2 separate regions of the Homo sapiens genome follow, and region 2 is linked to region 1. Evidence: promoter capture Hi-C in 16 types of primary human blood cells and fetal thymus (Javierre and others, 2016). All regions are on one chromosome and are shown on one strand. The core of a region is centred on a gene start or on the middle of the fragment in contact, and the rest is flanking DNA. Distances in the headings are between cores, read along the strand shown.

Region 1 (4,179 bases), core at 1,377-3,876:
CAAGGCGGGCGGGTCATGAGGTCAGGAGTTCAAGGCCAGCCTGACCAACATGGCAGAGCTCCGTCTCTACTAAAAATACAAAAATTAGCCAGGCACGGTGGGACGCACCTTTAATCCCAGCTACTCAGGAGGCTGAAGCAGGAGAATCGCTTGAATCGGGGAAGCGGAGGTTGCAGTGAGCCGAGATCGCGCCACTGCACTCCAGCCTGGGTGACTCCCATCTCAAAAAAAATAAAAAGTACTGGAGGTGTCCTGTTGTCCTTGTTACTGTGAAAGGATGCCATGGGTTGTATGGGCAAATGAGTTGTTTTGTTTGAGGCAGAGTGGAAAATAAGATTAGGCTCAGTCCATGAGCCTAGCACTCAACAGATCTTACTTTGGCGTTCTGGCTGTGACTTGGGACTTCTTTTTACCATGGTCTGCTGTAAACACAGAAAAACCCAATGCCTAACAGTTCATGCTGGAGTCTTGAGCGTTGAGGGAGAATCACTGGACTCGAGAGAGAAAGTTTGTTTGTTTGTTTGTTTGTTTGTTTTTTGAGTTGGTCTCACTCTGTCGCCCAGGCTGGAGTGCAGTGGTATGAACATAGGTCACTGCAGCCTTGACCTCCTGGGCTTAAGTGATCCTCCCATCTCAGCCTCCCAAGTAGCTTGGGACCACAGGGTTGCACCACCGTGCTCAGCTAGTTTTCAAAATTTTTGTAGAGTTAAGGTCTCATCATGTTGCCCAGGCTGGTCTCAAACTCCTGGGCTCAGGAAATTCTCCTACCTCAGCCTCCCAACGTGCTGGGATTCCAAGTGTGAGCCCCTGTGCTCCACCAAGAGAAAAACTCTTTGATTGCTAGGAAGTTGGGATAAAGAAATTGTGCTGTGATCAAGCCACCTTCTGTGTCATAGAACCAAAAGAAGACCGCCTGCTATGGCAAGATGGCCTAATTTTATTCCTGCCTCATACTATCATGGATAATCGTTTTCCTTTCTCTAGCAGGTTTGTGTCACTGGGAGTACTGGGAGCATTATCCTGTGTTGTGCTGGGGTTATACCAAGCAGTGTTAACTTTATTTAAAGAATTCAGGCAGAAAGATTAGAGAATTTAAGTAGCAATTGTATATGGTAAGCAATACAGTAACCTTAATAAAAATTAATGATGGCCGGGTACGGTGGCTCACGCCTGTAATCCCAGCACTTTGGGAGGCCGAGGCGGGCGGATCACAAGGTCAGGAGATCGAGACCATCCTGGCTAACACGGTGAAACCCCGTCTCTACTAAAAATACAAAAAATTAGCTGGGCGTGGTGGCAGGCGCCTGTAGTCCCAGCGACTGGGGAGGCTGAGGCAGGAGAATAGCGTGAACCCAGGAGGCGGAGTTTGCAGTGAGCGGAGATCGCACCATTGCACTCCAGCCTGGGCGACAGAGCGAGACTCCGTCTCAAAAAAATAAATAAATAAATAAAAAATAATGTGTATTTTATCAATTCAGTGATAAAGCAGACCTTTGTAAACTGTCTAGCTTGTGGTGACTGATTGAGGGTATCATGAAGCTCCGCGCCCCCCCACTCCCCGACATACTCGTTCATCCTCCTCTGTCCTAAAGCGTACTTCTTTGGAAAAGTAGAGCAGTTTATGTTAGTGTACACTAGAGATGGTAAACTATGCCTTGTGGGTCAAATCGGGCCTGCTGCCTGTGTTTGTATGGCCTGTGAGCAAAGAAAGGTTTTTACATATTTAAATGGTTGGAAAAAATATTTAAAGAATGCTATTTTTGGACACAAAAAATTGTATGAAATTAAAATTTCAATGTCTGTATCTTTTTATTGGGACACAGCCACCGCCATTCCTTTAGCTTTTGTATGCAACAGCTGCAGAGTTGACTATTTGAGACAAGTTGTATGGTCCCCCCAAACTGGAACTGTTTCCATTCTGGCCTTCTACAGAAAGTATTTGGACCCTGGCCTAGATAAATCCTGGCTGGTGGTTATGTTATGTGAAATGTGCACACTGTAAAATATAGGCCTGTATGATTAAAATTTTTGATTTCAGCTACTGTTCATAGTCGATTTAAAGGGCAATTTAATTTACAGCAAATCCAGTTTCTCGGAGATTTGTGTTGGGGCTTTGGCAGCAAAAAAAAATCCTAGGAGTAATCTTGAGAGTTCCATGCCCCCTAGTGGATTGCTATAGGGTTTACTTTTAAATTTTCAAAACACTGAATTGGCCAAGGATTTCCTTGGTCCATATTATCCCAAGGGTCAGAGGCTGAAGGTCGCCTAGACCTGGGCAGATGCTCACAGGTACTGTCGTGGCCTGGGCAAATCTAGGCACGTCAGCGCTCATTTCTATTCCCTTTCCCACATTCCAGCAAACGAGACTAGGCTTGAAGGGACCCACCCTCCTCTCCTCTGATTCCTCGTGACGCCGCACTCCTCTTACTCTCCCCGGGGCTCATCCGGGGGAATGGGGCAGATTATGTCCCACCGGTTGGACAAACTAACGAGGGCGGGGAAAGGAAAAAAAAAATCAGAATAGGAAGCCAATCAGAGCTCGGTACAAGCCCAGCCAATCGGGTCGGGTCAATTGGGGCTTAGCCAATCGGGCTCGATGAGGAAGACGTGAGTCAGAGCTTGCGCCTCTCGCTTCCAGCTGTGGGTGGCGCTAGGCAGCTTCAGCCGGACCGGGTAGGGGTCCTCGCTCGCTAGCTTGCTGTTTCTCGGAGAAGCTCCCGAGTGTCCGGCCTAGAGGCCATGAGAAGGCAGTGGGGGTCTGCCATGAGGGCGGCCGAGCAGGCGGGCTGCATGGTGAGCGCCTCCCGGGCCGGACAGCCCGAGGCGGGCCCGTGGAGCTGCAGCGGGGTAATCCTGAGCCGTAGCCCGGGCCTGGTGCTTTGCCACGGGGGCATCTTCGTCCCCTTCCTGCGAGCTGGCAGCGAAGTCCTGACCGCGGCCGGCGCCGTCTTCCTGCCTGGCGACAGTTGCAGGGACGACCTGCGCCTGCACGTGCAGTGGGCCCCAACGGCCGCGGGTCCCGGGGGCGGCGCGGAGCGGGGCCGCCCAGGGCTGTGCACGCCCCAGTGCGCGAGCCTCGAGCCCGGCCCACCTGCCCCGTCCCGCGGGCGTCCCCTGCAGCCCCGGCTTCCTGCTGAGCTGCTGCTGCTGCTGAGCTGCCCGGCCTTCTGGGCCCACTTCGCGCGCCTCTTCGGGGACGAGGCAGCGGAACAGTGGCGCTTCTCGAGCGCGGCGCGGGATGACGAAGTGTCGGAGGACGAGGAGGCGGATCAACTGAGAGCGCTGGGCTGGTTTGCGCTGCTGGGCGTGCGGCTAGGCCAGGAGGAGGTGGAGGAGGAGCGCGGGCCAGCCATGGCGGTGTCGCCTCTCGGGGCCGTGCCCAAGGGTGCGCCATTGCTGGTCTGCGGCTCCCCTTTCGGCGCCTTCTGCCCCGACATCTTTCTCAACACGCTGAGCTGCGGGGTGCTCAGCAACGTGGCCGGCCCACTGCTGCTTACCGACGCACGCTGCCTGCCCGGCACCGAGGGCGGCGGCGTGTTCACCGCGCGGCCCGCGGGGGCGCTGGTGGCGCTGGTGGTGGCGCCGCTCTGTTGGAAGGCCGGCGAATGGGTGGGCTTCACGCTGCTCTGCGCCGCCGCCCCCCTTTTCCGCGCCGCCCGCGACGCGCTTCACCGCCTGCCGCACAGCACCGCTGCCCTGGCCGCCCTTCTGCCGCCAGAGGTGGGCGTCCCGTGGGGTCTGCCCCTCCGAGACTCCGGGCCCCTGTGGGCAGCCGCGGCAGTGTTGGTGGAGTGCGGCACCGTATGGGGCTCCGGAGTGGCTGTGGCACCCCGCCTTGTAGTGACCTGTCGGCACGTGTCCCCTCGGGAAGCAGCCAGGGTCCTGGTGCGCTCCACCACCCCCAAGTAAGCCCGCAGGGCTGACGCCACTTCATCCCTTTCCAGGTCTCAGATCTGGGTCCAGCCCTAATACTCTTGAGTATTGTGCAGGCCTTTCTTGTGTCACGCGGATGCTTTGGGCGTGTAGTGGGTAGAGACCTGGAACCCTCCCCTCATCCTTTATACCCAGAACCCCTGTGGGGAGAATCTGGGGCAAGGTGTCAAGCTCGAAGCAGCTCTGGATTTGGGTACTGTGGGACACCCTGAATCCGGAACAGGGCATCTTTGAGCTCCCCTCAAA
Region 2 (3,995 bases), core at 117-2,616, 690 kb before region 1:
GAGAATGGCTGGTTATCTGTAACTGGACTCTGCACACCGTGGCACTCTGCCTACAAGTTCACAAGGTTCATCACATCATAGGCCATCAGAGCTGAACCTGTCCTTCACAGATGAAGACATTGAGGCCTACAGGTCACAAAGCTCGGAAATAGCGGAGCCAGGACTCAAATCTTCTGGTTTAAAATGCATTGTTTTTTCCACTGCCTAGTTTTCCAGAGCCAAACTATCAGTGGCACAAATCAGGAGACCAACAGTTCTCAAAGTCCTGTCAGCTAGTTTACTCCAAGAGCCAAAGGAAAGGCTCTCATCTTCACTACGCTCCCAGTGAAGGCATACAGAACTTCCAGATGACCTAACGGCATCCTACAAGGGCTGAGCATTTTGGGGAAGTGAACTGCTATTGCATGGCCTTTTCGAACTGCAAACTTCATTCTTCTCTGAGCTAGAGACTTACACTCATACTACTTATTTGCTTACAAAAGAAAGACGGAAAGAAATTAGTTTGAAAAGTACTTCAGAAAAGTTGTCTTCAAAATCATAAAATGCTACTGTCTGAAGGAACCTTAGAGACCACCTATAGTCCAATCTCATTGCAGTGATGAAGAAACTGAGGCCACAGACTAATACCAAAATGTGCCTTCCCTGGTTTCAAACTAGAGGCACAGCCCCCAAGAGAATCTATCTTCTTCTTCAATATTCTTTCCATAAAGCCAGTGGGGGTACATCAATATCATCCAAGAAGCATGATTCCTGGAACGAATCATCTTCTTGGGTCAGAATACCCCACCCACAGGGTCAGAGTACAGAATGTGTATTTTGTAAACCTCCCTCCGGTGATTCTGACAGGCAACACTGCTTAAGAATCCATTCTCTTCCCCATCCTTTTCTTTTATTAAAAGATGACCCAGTAGCTGACTTAACATATTACTGACACCCAATCACCAAACTTAATGGCTACCCGGTATTCACGCAGCAGGGAAAAGACATCCACGAAGCTTTCCTGGGAAGTGTTAAAAGTCAGGGCCCAGTCACGTCACTCTACTAGATATCAATTCATTGTTCCTGCCTAATATTTATTCTTTGGCCAGATACTAATAAAAATCAAAATCTTCTACCCCACAATCCTGCAAAGAAGACAGAATTTGTTATTTGTTTTCCTGAACTATTCAACGCTCAATACTTTTTCCAGAAGGACCATAAATCTGAGCTTTACAGCAGGAATGGGCTGTTGAGGAAAAGAAAAATCTGTTCTACCCAGTTCAAATGTTACTCTAAGGACTAAGCCTCAGCCTAGGGAGTGAAGTTAAAATACAGAAGAGACTCAGTTAGTATATTTATTCTTATCAGCTTCTGCCCCCCCACCAAAAAAAGAAAAGCCAGAAAGCAAAGCTAATTTAATCTGATTTTCTTTCATATTACAGTCTACAGAACTTCAAAGTGCAAGGTAAACAGGTAAGAAAATACTATTGTCTTTATAGCCTCCAAAAGCATTAAAGTTTATCATCAAAAACACATCACAACCCCAAAGGGAAAATCCTCTTGGGTCATTAAAGAAGTAAGAACTGAGCAACAAAACCAGACAGCCATTCCAAGCAACCAGTAGTGACTGTGAGAAACGTTTGAGGAAACTGAATCATCATTTCTTAGGAGACAAAAAGCAAACCACATACTTCCCCCAAAATTCCACTATGTGAGTCAAGAGATCCAGTATCTGAGAAGTTCGTCTCAAAAAGCTTAAGAGTCTACATTTTCCCTTCTAGCCTGGCCTTGCCAGATATGTACACTTGGTACCATTCCCCAAGCACCAACTGCTATACACTTAGCATGGGAGTATTCAGGCAAAGCATCTTTCCATCCCTGAAATAACAAAACCATCTTGGCCACAGAAAGAACACACATATGAAATGTTCCCAAGTCATCAGAAGTGCACTCATGGAAAACCACAGCTTCTAAGTTCCTAAAAGCTGAACCCGAAACACTGCTAAATGGTCACTTTATTAATGTACTTGTGGTCAGGACAAGGCATCAAGTAAAGGGAGATGCTGATTCTGTTAAGTAACAATTCTGAGCACCTCTCTTCTGAAATACATATTTAAAAGTATCAGGAGCAGCTTATACTAGGAGAGAAGACTAAATGCATAAAACTGAATTCAATAAGCAGAGGAACACACTGAAGGACACAGAGATAAGAGCAATTACCAGTTTTGTAGGAAAATAGACTCCCAGCCTAAGGCAAGTAGGTAAGATATGGGGGGAAAAATATGCAAATTTGCACATGGAATGTTGCTAAGTTTGCTATGAACTCTCAGAGTCTGACAATAAATAGCTAAATGACTTACTGTGCACATGTATACAGGTTATATTTCAAAGCACAAATGAGTTTCATCATTCTCTAAAACTAGAAATGATAATTTCTTGGATAATAAGCAAGATCTAGTGGAAAAGATCCCGTATTTCTCACACAGAAAGAAGTCTTAACTTCTCTGAGCATATCACGATTGGGGAAGGGCAGAGGTTAGCTGACTTCTCCAGTCCCATACTTATCTTACTAACAGAATTCTCTATCTTTGTCTGGGAGTTAAGACACTTAGACTTTTCATAACCATTTGTGGAAATTCCTTCCCTACAACAGTCATGCTGCTATTAGAGATGAGGAATACTGAATATTTGCTGAGAAGTGTAACCTAACTAAAGCTATTTCTCTAGAGATTTCCAACACGTAAGCCTGCTCAAAAGAATAAGCAGGGACCTATCCCTAGGTCTCTGACTGACCTTCAACTATATAAACACCCTTTGGAAAGTGCATCTTCGAAATTACCAAGAACCTACTTTTAAAAGCTGAAGTAAGCAGCTGAGTAAATTTAATTTAAAATTAATACTTGGAAGAGTTTCAAACTTTGTGGTATCTATTGAAAGTGAGCAGGAAAGTGTGCTTCTGTGATGTTATACGTATATATTGGTTTGCATCCATGGTTCCTGGTTCATAACCCCCATAGCCCTTGTTATAGTCTTCTATTATAATGCTGGGGCACTTTGGGCCTCAGGAAACAGAATCTCTCTCAACCTTCTCCTGTCCTCTTTTACCTGCCTCAAAGCAAGACTCTAGTCCAACTGTGGGCCAAAAAACCCTCATTCCTGGGAGGGTTGTGCCCCATATTCTGGAGGAAGGAAGGCTGCACAGAAAGGCCAGCGACAACCTGAACAGACAGGCCTTGCTGGGTTTCCGGTCAGTCTATTAGTATGAGATCATGCCTCCTGTGTCCAGTCACATTTCTACATGGTTGTCAATCATGCCTATGTAACTAAGCCTCCATAAAAACCCAAAAGGACAGGGTTCAGAGAGCCTCTGGATAGCTGAACACATGGAGGTTCCTGGAGGGTGGTGCACCCAGGGAGGCATGGAGGCTCCACACCCCTTCCCCTATACCTTGCCCCATGCATCTCTTCATTTGTAACCTTTGCAGTATCCCTTAAAATAAACCTGTAAACCTAAGTAAATGTTTCCCTGAGTTCTGTGAGCTGTTCCAGCAAATTAATCCAATCCAAGAGGAGGTCATGGGAACCTCACCTTGAAGACAGTCAGTCAGACATTTTGAAGGACCAGACTTGTGACAGGTTGGGGTTGGGGGAGACAGGTATGGGTTGGGACTGAGCCCTCAACCCATAGATCTGATGCTATCTCCAGGTAGACAGTGTCAGAATTGAATTAGGCGACACCCAGTGATGTCTGCTTCTTGGAGTGTGGGGAAAAAAATCCCACACGTTTGGTCACGGAAGTCTTCGGTGTTGATTGTTGTGGTGTGAGAGTAGAGGAGAGAGTTTTTCCCTACGGCTTCCAATGAAAAATTATGCATTATCTGGGACGCCCCTCCGGGTTACCAGATTCTGATTATGAGGAGGCTGTTTACGGCTCTGAAAGTTGTAGATAACTGATAGCAGTGCAAAGTAATCTAGATCCCTAAATATGCAAATTCTGCCGTCAGGTGAAGTTTCAC

Evidence for each region. Contacts are between HindIII fragments. The CHiCAGO score rates a contact against its expected background, and 5 or more counts as called.
Region 2: a fragment that was not itself captured here is called in contact with the fragment with the promoter of TYSND1 in region 1 in 1 of 17 cell types (naive B cells); the score reaches 5.0 in naive B cells.

Annotation. Positions count from the first base shown.
Region 1 is chr10:70,145,147-70,149,325 of GRCh38, reverse strand. TYSND1 (trypsin like peroxisomal matrix peptidase 1) reads left to right here and starts at 2,626. Exons shown (of 4, transcript NM_173555.4): 1 at 2,626-3,905. The coding sequence starts at 2,740. SAR1A (secretion associated Ras related GTPase 1A) reads left to right here. Exons shown (of 7, transcript NM_020150.5): 7 at 1-2,037. RefSeq lists silencers at 2,855-3,164, 3,495-3,724 and an enhancer at 3,315-3,364. The HindIII fragment of the contact is 18,251 bases long and covers 1-4,179 here.
Region 2 is chr10:70,831,032-70,835,026 of GRCh38, reverse strand. The region is part of intron 2 of SGPL1 (sphingosine-1-phosphate lyase 1); the gene reads right to left. Among named protein-coding and RNA genes, the nearest start is that of SGPL1, 17 kb to the right of the region's middle. The HindIII fragment of the contact is 738 bases long and covers 998-1,735 here.